3 separate regions of the Homo sapiens genome follow, and all the other regions are linked to region 1. The links are contacts of gene promoters, found by promoter capture Hi-C in human tissues and cell types (Jung and others, 2019). All regions are on one chromosome and are shown on one strand. The core of a region is centred on a gene start or on the middle of the fragment in contact, and the rest is flanking DNA. Distances in the headings are between cores, read along the strand shown.

Region 1 (3,670 bases), core at 699-3,198:
AAGAGGCTGGGGGGTCAGGTTGAAAGGTCCTGGGAAAGCAATAAAAGACGTCGCAGCCCCAGAGTATGTGTGAAACGCAAGAAGGAAGCAGACCCCACGTGCAGGCCGTGAGGCTCAGCGCTCAGTCTTAGCCGCAGCCGTGGTGCACCTTAACTTTCACTCTGCTCTGCACCCTTTCTCCCTCCAGCCCCCAGCGTGCACCCCTAAAAGAATCGAGCTGCAAATTCCTGACAGACCCCTCACAAGCTGCTCAGATGCTCGGGGGTAGGGTTAACTAGAGAATTGGGGGGAAGGGATCCCCTTAAAGAACACCCTGAAGTCCCAAAGTTTAGGCAAGTGAGGTACTTACAGAATTTAAAGACACACCCAAACAGTCATCAAGAGAAAAGGCATGTCAATATTTTTAAACATCAAAATGAATGCAAACAAATTTATGAACAAAATACCAAAGTTTCAAATAAAGACAGGCTCTGGCAAGAGGCCTGAGGTGGGGGCCTTGGAGGCGAGTTCTGCAAGGGCAGGGTTGAATGCAAAGGGTCGCCTGATGCTGTGTTTTCATCACAATCTGGGAGGTATGCAGCTCCTGAATTTCAAGGGGAACCCTGGGGTATTCAGCTGCTCTGGGGGTCCGTGGGCTGGGGCTGGCCTGCTCCAGACCTGGCAGCTGCTGAAAAGCATCAGGGTGGACAGATGACGTTGGAAGCACTCACAAATTCTGCCTTTTGGTTTGACCCAAGCTATTGCTTTTAAGTTTGTAACAGCCTACAGTTCCCCAAAAGACACGTAATACCACGGAACAGGTTTATTTCACCCTGGCCACTATATATCGGCAAAACAACTATATGATGGGAAGCAGTAGTGGATAGCATTTGGATGCTATTCAAATGGTCTGAGATTTATTCAAGGCTCCAAACATCTCTGAGAGAGGACTTGGGGAATATTTGGCCAGCAAATGGCAGAAACATGGCGGTCCACGAGCAAAGCCACCCGATTCAGGCACATCTGTGAAAGAAAAAGGGGACACCACCAGGCAAGTAGGAGGAGCACCGCGTGGCATTTATGGAGATGACTCGTTCACCAGGTTCCCACAGGGCTTTCAGCATGCTGCTGAATTAATCTCCACCCAGGATCTCCGAGACCCGGGGACGCGTCACGTCGTCATTTCCTAGGGGGATCAGGAACTCAGGGGAGCCCGAGTCCTGGAAGGTTCCTGATTGGAAGTCTCGCCAAGCTGGTCAGGCGACTGGACTGGAGGGAAACATCCTCTGGTTTACTGATTTTGTGGATTTGGGCTTTCACAAAGTCATCTTTTCTTCCAAGAACGGCATGGGGTGGGCTGCCTCCCAAGCCATAACATGTGTGGGCTGAGGGGCCCCTACACCCCGCAAGTTTCTTGCACGATCGGGAGGTCTCATCTCAGGCTCCCACCCAGCCGTTTCCTGGGCTGAAGGCCAGGAGGTCCCAGTTAACAATAGGGTTGTCCCAGGCCATGCTTCCGGAGGGGCAGAGACGGCTTCTCTGGGAGGTGGCCCATGCCCCAGGCCTTCAGGACTCCACAGGAGGAAGCTGGGGCTAGGGGCTTCCAGGAGAAGCCAGGGGGCTGAGGCAAGGCCTTCCCAGGAGCAGGGAAGAGTCTGGAGCCCTGGAAGGGGTCAGGCTGGTACGTGGCAGCCAGCCTCGGGGTCCCAGAGCCATGAACAGCTCCCGGTGGCGAGCAGAGCCACTTCTGGGGTAAGTGGAGGGTCTGCTGTCTGCCAGGGCCTAGGTCCCACCTCCATCCTCTGAAGGCCTCCCTGCTCCCTCCACCTTGGCCTCCGACTCCCCCAGCATGGTTGAAGGCCGCTCACCAGCTGAAGGCAAACAGCTTCTCCCGCAAACTGATGAGCAACTCTTTCCCAAACCAGGAAAGAAAATGGCTCCCTTCCCTCGAGGGGCTCCAACTGCCACATAACTTCTGGGAGTCTCCTCACGGTACCTGGGGCTTCTAGAACCTTCCCCTTGGGACCCAAGTAACCAATGATAGCGCAGCAAATGAGGAACCAACCGTCACCCCACAGTGGAAAGGCTCTTAGATGATCATTTTGAGGGGAGGTTGGAGGGGGGACAGGGTCGCGCTCTGTTACCCAGGCTGGAGTGCAGTGGTACAATCATAACTCACTGCAGCCTCAAACTCCTGGGCTTACGTGATCCCCCCCCCTCAGCCTCCTGAGAAGTTAGGACAACAGACGCACATCACCACACCTGGCTAATTTTTGTACTTTTTGTAGAGATGAGGTCTCACTCTGTTGCCCAGGCTGGTCTCAAACTCCTGGCCTCAAGCAATCCTCCCAAAGTGGAAAGGAAGACATTATCTCTGTTTACAATAAGGTGATCTTGTATGTAGAAAATCCCAAGAAATCCATAAAATTGTAGAGCTAATAGAGGAATTCAGCAAGTTTGCAGTATACAAGATATTTGAAAATTAATTATATTTCTCTGTAATTATATTATGAACAATCTGATGATGAAATTTAGAAAACAATTGTCCCCATAATGAACAATCTGATCATGAAATTTAGAAAACAACTCCCATTTACAACAGCATCAAAATAATTTCGTTTACAATAGCGTCAAAAACAACAAAATACTTAGGAATAAACTTTAAAAAGAAGTGTTAAGACTTGTACACTGAAAACTGCAAAACATCATGGAAATAAAGACAACCTAAATCAATGGAAGGACATGCTGTGTTCATGGGTTAGAAGATTGTTAAGACGGGCCAGGCGTGATGGCTCACGCCTGTAATCCCAGCACTTTGGGAGGCCAAGGCGGGTGGATCACGAGGTCAGGAGATCGAGACCATCCTGGCTAACACGGTGAAACCCCATCTCTACTAAAAATACAAAAAAATTAGCCGGGCGTGGTGGTGGGTGCCTGTAGTTCCAGCTACTCAGGAGGCTGAGGCAGGAGAATGGCATGTACCTGGGAGGCGGAGCTTGCAGTGAGCCGAGATCCCGCCATTGCCCTCCAGCCTGGGAGACAGAGTGAGACTCCGTCTCAAAAAAAAAAAAAAAAGAAGATTGTTAAGATGACGACAGTTCTCCTCAAGTTGATCTGCAGATTCAACACAATCCTTATCAAACTCTCAGCTGCCTTTTTTGTAGAAATGACCCTAGATTTTATAGGGAAGTATGAGGGAACAAAAACCATCCAAACAACTTTGAAAAAGAACAAAGTCTGAAGACACACACTTCCTGATTTCAAAACTCACTACAAAGCTACAGTTATCAAGACAGTGCTACCAGCATAACAATAGACAGAGATCACTAGAATAGAATTGAGGTTCCAGAAATAAATGCATCCATTTATGGACGATTGAGTTAGCAAAGGTGCCAAGACAACTCAATGGGAAAAGAATCACCTTTTCAACAAATGGTATTGGAATAACTGAATACCCACATGCGGAAAAACGAAGCTGGGCCCTTACCTCACGCCATCTACACGAATTAACTCAGCATAGATTAACAGAATGCAAGAGCCAAATGTAAGAGCTAAAACTATAAAACTCTTAGAAGAGCACACAGGAGTTGATCTGACCTCAGATGAGGCAATGATGTCTTACATATGATGCCAAAAGCATAAGTGAGCAAAGGAAAAAAGATAAGTTTAACTTCATCAAAACCAAAAACTT
Region 2 (3,670 bases), core at 591-3,090, 150 kb after region 1:
GCCAAATAAATGCTGTCTGCAAGGTGCTATGCGGAGTGGGGCTCAGAGAAGAGCAGGGCCCAGGTTAGTCCAAGACGGTTCCACGCGAGAGCCTGGGAGAGGGCAGTCCAGGCAGAGGTGGAAAGGGCAACACAAGGGACAGAGTCTGGAAGAGCAAGCTCCAGGCAGACTGTGGTGCCTTTGAATTTGACACCGAGACAGGTGGATTCTATTCTGCTGTTGAGTTGGGCGAGAGATAAAGAAGCTCTTCTGGAAGAGCAAGAAGCGGCAGCCAGGCGCCATGAGAAAGAAAAGGGACTGGAAGCTTTGCGTAGTCTTCACTGCACCGCGGTCTGCACTCCTGTTCAGAAGCGGTAGCAAAGAAATAAGTGGTTTTTTGCCCTACTCCAACTCACACCTTCAACTACCATCCTTATCCAGCACTAATTCCCCAAACCACTACTGACTTCCCATCCTCTTTCCAGTTCTCTCTCTCAGGCTCAAGGACAGGTGCAACCAGAAAGTGACCCTCTGACAAGCGTGCAAGGGCAATGTGCATCAATCATTTTATTTCTAAAGCGGAAAATGAGGCACAAGGAATACATTCAAATCTCGCAGTTTCATCAGCATCCCAAACCCACGAATTCACAATGCTGCTCAAAGGTCCTCTCTGCCCATGAGGCGTCCCCAAACCCCAAATCACCTGGGCCACAGGCTCCAAGCACCACAGACATGATAAGCATAAAGCTTTTAGGCGAGTCAGCATTCTCAATCTCCCCTCCTTCTGTGTCCCATGAAAACAGAGGCCTGGGGTTTTTTTTACTTTTTTCTTTAAATTCTATTCCACTCCTTACACTTAAAAATGCCTCATTATTCTTTAGTAAATGCTAGGAGCATAAAATCTTCTTCAAAGAAGCAAAAACTGGCATCTGTTCCTGCTCTGAGAAGTCCTTGAAGATCTCTTGAAAGGAAGGTCATTTCTACCTGCACCTCAAAATAGAAACAAACTGGCTCCCTGTTCCAGACATCACCCTTACCAGAGTTGCCCCGAGTCCGGGTTTGCAAAAGTTTGGGAGAGGTGTAAGAAGGAGCTGACTAGGGCACCAGCCTTCCAAGTCGCGGGAAGGTCCAGGATACTGGCCCCCTGCCTCCACCTACCAGCAGGGCAAGGCTGGAGCAGGCACGGCCGACCCAAGCCTCCTGGCGAGTGCATCCTTCTGGTGCCAACTCAGTGTGTTAGGAGGGCAGGCTTCTTCTTCTCTGTCTTGGCTGCTCTCATGAGGCTGCTCTTGGACCGTCCCCTATCTCCTGCCCATGCAGGGGGCAGAACTGTAGGAGGAAGAAAGACGAGACCTATGGCAGGGGCAGCCAAGGAGAGCAGTGAGGAGGAGCAGAAGGCAGGCCAAGCTCTGCACCTTTGAGATCCAGGGCAGCACACCCACTCCAGAACTAGCTGAAGAGGTGCTGACCCATGAGAGGGCAGTGAGTCCCTGATATCATGCAGGTGTCCTATGGCCTCCCTCCACGACAAATGGATGCCCACCTCTAGGTGGCACGATATAGTCAGTTTCTCTGGACAAACTCTATTCTACCCCAAACACTGGTAAATCCTCCCCAAGCCAGGCTGGTTCCTGCAGCAGGGCCAGCCTCTCATCTAGACAGGAAAAAGAAACATGGAAAACAAAGGGGACCTGAGCAAAGGTAGAAAGACCCCAGTAATCAAAGTTCTCGTACATACACCACGATGTTTAAAAACATTATTTACGCCGGGTGCAGTGGCTCACTCCTGTAATTCCAGCACTTTTGGGGGCCGAGGTGGGTGGATCACTTGAGGTCAGGAGTTTGAGACCAGCCTGACCAACATGGTGAAACCCCATCTCTACTAAAAATACAAAATTAGCCAGGTGTGGTGGCACATGCCTGTAATCCCTGCTACTTGGGAGGCTGGTATTACAAGAGAATCACTTGAACCAGGGAGGCAGAGGTTGCAGTGAGCCAAGACCACGCCATTGCACTCCAGCCTGGGTAATGAGAGCGAAACTCCATCTCAAAAAAAAAAAAATTATTTACATTACCAACATGATGTTTACAGAAATATAATAAAAAGGATATTAAACTTCACATGGGAAAAAATATATATGACAATAGTCAGAAAAATATGAAAGGGAGAAAGGGTAACGTGAGGGTGTAGCTACCTGAGATTAAAGCACGTGAGGCTTTGGTAATTGAAACTGCAACGGAAGAAAAAGACCAGAAAACAAACTCAAGAAATACTGAAACACACACGTAGCACTTTGAATCGGTAAAGAAAAATAGGATTATTCAGTCAAGGGTGCTGAGCAAATAAATAGCCAGCTAGCCATTTGGGATAAAACTAAGCTGAAATGAATTCTAGCTTAATCAAAGATGTTAATGTAAAATAAAACCTGAATAATTCTAGAATAGAGCATGAATTAGTATAGTCATAATATTGGTGAGTCTGCTCATTTGCGACATGAAAATGAAAAGCTTCTGAGTGAAAAATAATATCCCATAAGCTAAAAGGTAAACAACTAGGACAATAAATTCACAAAACATATGACAAAGGGTTAATATCTTTTTTTAAATTAATTAACTTATTATTTTTAGAGAGAGGGTCTCACTCTGTACCCAGGCTGGAGTGCAGTGGTGTGATCATAGCTCACTGCAGCCTCAAACTCCTGGCCTCAAGCGATACTCCCACCTCAGCCTCCAGAATAGCTGGGACTATAAGTATGTGCCACACCTGGCTAGGGTTAATTTATTTAAGTCACAAAGAAAGCAGCATAAAAATTAGTAAAGCAAAGATGAATACAATGAGCAAAGGATATAAAAGACAGATTACAAAAAGAGAAATACAAATGGTCACACAGAAGAAGATGCTCACAGTCACTATGTGTTTAATGCAAATTAAAACATGAATAACATACCATTTTCCATTAGTCTGGCAGGAATCAGAATGCCAGATGAGACGAAATACTGTCAGGGGAGTGGGCTACACAGGCAGTCTCCCGTGCTGCTGGGAGAGTGTAAACTGGTACAACCTTTTGGCACTAGCAAAACATAAAGAGCACACACCTTTTGATTTGATTTGAATCAAACTTATGAATTTGATTCTTAAATTCCACTTAAGAGTGGATATGCTCCCCAAATTCCAAAAATTTTAAACTACCTAAAAACTACTTGGTAATTTAAAAGAATGAGGTGATTTGTAAATGCTAACATGAAAAGATCTCTAAGACACATCTGGTGAAACAGGATGGCACAGAATACCTTCTCACAAGTAACACCTACGCTTGCTAAACACACAGGGAGCTTCTGAGAAGGACACACTTGAAACTGCTAGCAGGAATCACCTTTCAAAGCAAGGACTGTGGAAAGAGAGTGGGGGAGGCCTGGACTCTTCCTCTTCTGCCTATCTGTATATCTGGATCCACAACTAACACAAAATTTGATGTTGAAGTTTTTATTCAAAGAAAATACAGAAATGCCCCCAGCCACTTATATTTGCTCAGACTGGCCCAATATTTCTATTATAGAAGAAACATCCTTGGATTCTGTTTTAATGCCCATGAAGTGCCTGTTGTAACTACACCCATTCTGCTGTGATTTCGTATGTGGTCTCTCGTCTGAATTCTGTGACTCAGAATCCCAATTCTTCACAGAAAACACA
Region 3 (3,670 bases), core at 567-3,066, 130 kb after region 1:
GACGCTCCTCTGCTGTCAGGTCACTGGGAACTACAAAAATGGAGGGCAATGTTACAAGAAAGCTTTTATCTCGCCAAAAATCAAGGAAGATCCAGAGGCCACAAAAGGAGAAAGATATCAAGAAAGAAACTAGAAGTCAGTTTCAGAAATGACTGAGTGATAGAAATAGTTATGGCTCCAATTCTTATCAGATTTCTAAGAAAGGAAGGCCCTTAAATCACACAGAAAAGCTCTGAGAAACTCTTGGAAGGAAAAACGAGAGAGAAGAGATTACTGAAGGTTAAATTAGGTTGGCTATGAATGAAAAAGGATGAATATTAGCTGAGCGCCTGGCCATTTTCATCCCTTCCAGCTGGGAGACTTCAGGCTGACATTTAATTAATCTCTCTAGGCCTCAGCTCCCTCATGGTCAAAAACAGAGTCTCCGAGATGGAAAGATGTCCATGACCCCCTGAGGTGGGGAGGGGAGGCAAGAGGCAAAGCAACGTGTACGAACAATTTTGTGCCATCTCTGGGAGGGGTTTGGAGAAAGAGACTATGTATGCACTGAGAAATAAAAAAAGTCTAGAATATACACCTAAAATCAGTGCTTAACTCTGGGAACTGGGACTATGGGACTTTCTCTTTCTGCTTCATACCTTTCTTCATTGTTTCGATGTTTTACAATGTGCTCTTATCATCAGAAGAAAGTTACTTAATTCCCAGATCACAGCTCTCACCACAAAATACTTCTGCCATCCTCCAATGGCTCAATCTCCCCCACCTATACCAACAGGAGATTTGGACAGACACCCTCTAAAATGACCCTTCAAGCATGCTATGGGAAGCCATGTGGGCAAATGAGAAGAACAAGCATTAGAATCAAACAAACCAGGTTCAAATCCTAGCTCCAATCTACCAAATATCAAATTAGGTCACTTCAGACAAGTTATGTAACCCACTTGGGTCACATTTCATCATCAATGAAGTGGTCCCACCATCACCCACTTGATAAGGCTGCTGTGAAGATGATGTAGAGTAATTAAAGTGCCTCAAACCCTGCCTGGTGCTGAGCAGAAGCTCAGAAGTGTTGGCTCTTGTTCCCTCCATGGCACAGCAAAGGGCACCCACACTCTCAAGGGTAGGGGTGGTTTGAGGGTCCTTCTATCCTTCAGTGGGTGCCTATGTGAGCCTGAGCTGCACTGTACAATATGGCGGCCAGGAGCCCCACGTGACATTAACCACTTGAAATGTCACCACCCAGTTTGAGATGTGCTGTAGGTAAAAAATATACACCGAGGCCGGGCACAGTGGCTCATGCCTGTAATCCCAGCACTTTGAGAGGCCGGGGCGGGCAGATCACGAGGTCAGGAGACCGAGACCATCCTGGCTAACATGGTGAAACCCCGTCACTACTAAAAATACAAAAAATTAGCTGGGCGTGGTGGCAGGTGCCTGTAGTCCCAGCTACTCGGGAGGCTGAGGCAGGAGAATGGCGTAAACCCGGGAGGTGGAGGTTGCAGTGAGCCGAGATCCCGCCATTGCCCTCCAGCCTGGGAGACAGTACAAGACTCCATCTCAAATAAATAAATAAATAAATAAATAAATAAATAAATAAATAATATATATATATACACACACACACACACACACACACCAGACTTTCTATAAAAACAAAGGAAAATGACTTTTTAATAATATTTTATATTGATTGCACATTGATATAACTTAATGAAATGTATTATTTTAATTGATCTCAAAGGAACTAGTATGAAATAAAAGTGCATCTATGGCTCATATTATATTTCTAGACAGCATAGAGTTGGAATTAACATCTCTGCTTGAGAGCACAGTTAGGATACACATACTTTCCTTCTGCCCATGGCATTAAAACTTAATCTACTACATTCACAGAGCAGTTACTTTCCCCAAATATTTCATAAAAATCACAAGAGGGTAGAAACAATAGACTACAGTGAAGTGTACAGTGGGTTAATTAGCTACATTAGAAAAGCCGACTTTTCCTTTTTTTTTTTTTTTAACCTAGGTTTTCCCCAACCTTCTCTAAAAAAGTGTTTTTTAAACATCTCAAAATCCAAAATAAGAAAAGCATTTTAGTCCAGGCCTTGTAGCTCACGCCTGTAATCCCAGCACTTTGGGAGGCCAAACCAGGCAGACTGCTTGAGCCCATTGGGACCAGCATGGACAACATGGTGAAACCCTGTCTCTACTAAAAAAAATACAAAAATTAGCTGGGCATGGTGGCACATGCCTGTAGTTCCAGCTACTCGGGGGGCTGACGTAGAAGGATTGCTTGAGCCTGGGGTGCAGAGGTTGCAGTGAGCCAAGATCGCACCACTGCACTCCAGCCTGGGCAACAGAGCCAGACAAGAAAGAAAGAAGGAAAGAAGGAAAGAAGGAAGGAAGGAAGGGAGGAAGGAAGGGAGGGAGGAAGGAAGGGAAGGAGGAAGGAAGGGAGGGAGGGAGGGAGGGAGGGAGGTAGGAGAGAGAGAAAGAGAGAGAGAAAGAGAAAGAAAAAGAGAAAGAAACAGAAAAAGAAAAGAAATGCATTTTACATCATGACCCAATCTCCACCATACATAAAAGTATCAAAAATAATATCTCACCATGTCTGTTATTTCACTGTGAGCTTTCTTAACAGTGGTTTAGTCCAGTAAACTGATTTTATGGCTGCATGCGGTGGCTCACACCTGTAATCTCAGCACTTTGGGAGGCCGAGGTGAGTAGATCACCTGAAGTCAGGAGTTCAAGACCAGCCTGGCCAACATGGTGAAACCCCGTCTCTACTAAAAATACAAAAAAAATTAGCCAGGCATGGTGGCAGGTGCCTGTAATCCCAGCTACTCAGGAGGCTGAGGCAGAAGAATCGCTTGAAGTTGGGAGGTGAAGGTTGCAGTGGGCTGAGATCGTGCCACTGCACTCCAGCCTAGGCAACAAGAGCACAACTCTGTCTCAAAAATAATAATAATAATAATATAAAAAATAAAAAATAATTATTTCATAATCAATTAGGTAATCGTATAATTACCTAATATACTGAGTCCTGTGGTTTGAAAAACACTCTTCCTTTAGAGGCTGGAAGAGACAGCCACTCTAAAGATCCCAACAGACCAACTAAATCCAACCCAGGTCACCTTCACAAGAGTGGGCCTTAAACTGCGTCCCTGAGAACTCAAGGGTGATCACTCAGGTGTGTGTATTGGAGGACGGAGCCTTAAATAAGTTCACCTACACACCTGCTCTCCAGTCCCATTCCTGTGTCAAGACCCAGGACTCCAGCTCAGCAATCCATCAGCATTATGTGGATTCTAACCCTGCACCCCCGCCAAACCCACCACCCCAAATGTTTCTTCCCAGGCTGAACAGTTCTCCCAACATTAAAAAATATATATATATATATTAAAATGGCTGCTTCAGGAAAAAGTCAGACAAATAAGTGAGCTCTGGTTAAAGCAAAAGCCGTTTTGAAAAACAACATCAACTCTACTGATGCGTACACCGTTCTACAGAAACGCATGTTTAAAGCAGTTCACTCTGATTTTTCTGTGCTTCACAGCCCAGAAAAATTTCTAGTCCAAGTAGAAGACCCCTTTAAGAAATTAATTTCTTCAGGTTCTAGAAGATACATATTCATTCCAATATAACATGGTTTTGAAATTAAGGCAACATT

What was found. Contacts are between HindIII fragments. The study calls those that stand out against the background at their distance.
Region 2: a fragment that was not itself captured here is called in contact with the fragment with the promoter of DNAH17 in region 1 in 3 of the 25 tissues and cell types used here (bladder, pancreas and thymus).
Region 3: a contact is called between a fragment that was not itself captured here and the fragment with the promoter of DNAH17 in region 1, in 1 of the 25 tissues and cell types used here (neural progenitor cells).

What each region holds. Positions count from the first base shown.
Region 1 is chr17:78,575,448-78,579,117 of GRCh38, forward strand. DNAH17 (dynein axonemal heavy chain 17) reads right to left here and starts at 1,949. Exons shown (of 81, transcript NM_173628.4): 1 at 1,848-1,949. The HindIII fragment of the contact is 13,821 bases long and covers 1-3,670 here.
Region 2 is chr17:78,726,521-78,730,190 of GRCh38, forward strand. The region is part of intron 1 of CYTH1 (cytohesin 1); the gene reads right to left. Among named protein-coding and RNA genes, the nearest start is that of CYTH1, 54 kb to the right of the region's middle. The HindIII fragment of the contact is 3,980 bases long and covers 1-3,670 here.
Region 3 is chr17:78,709,703-78,713,372 of GRCh38, forward strand. CYTH1 (cytohesin 1) reads right to left here. Exons shown (of 14, transcript NM_004762.6): 2 at 1-30. Among named protein-coding and RNA genes, the nearest start is that of CYTH1, 71 kb to the right of the region's middle. The HindIII fragment of the contact is 4,206 bases long and covers 1-3,670 here.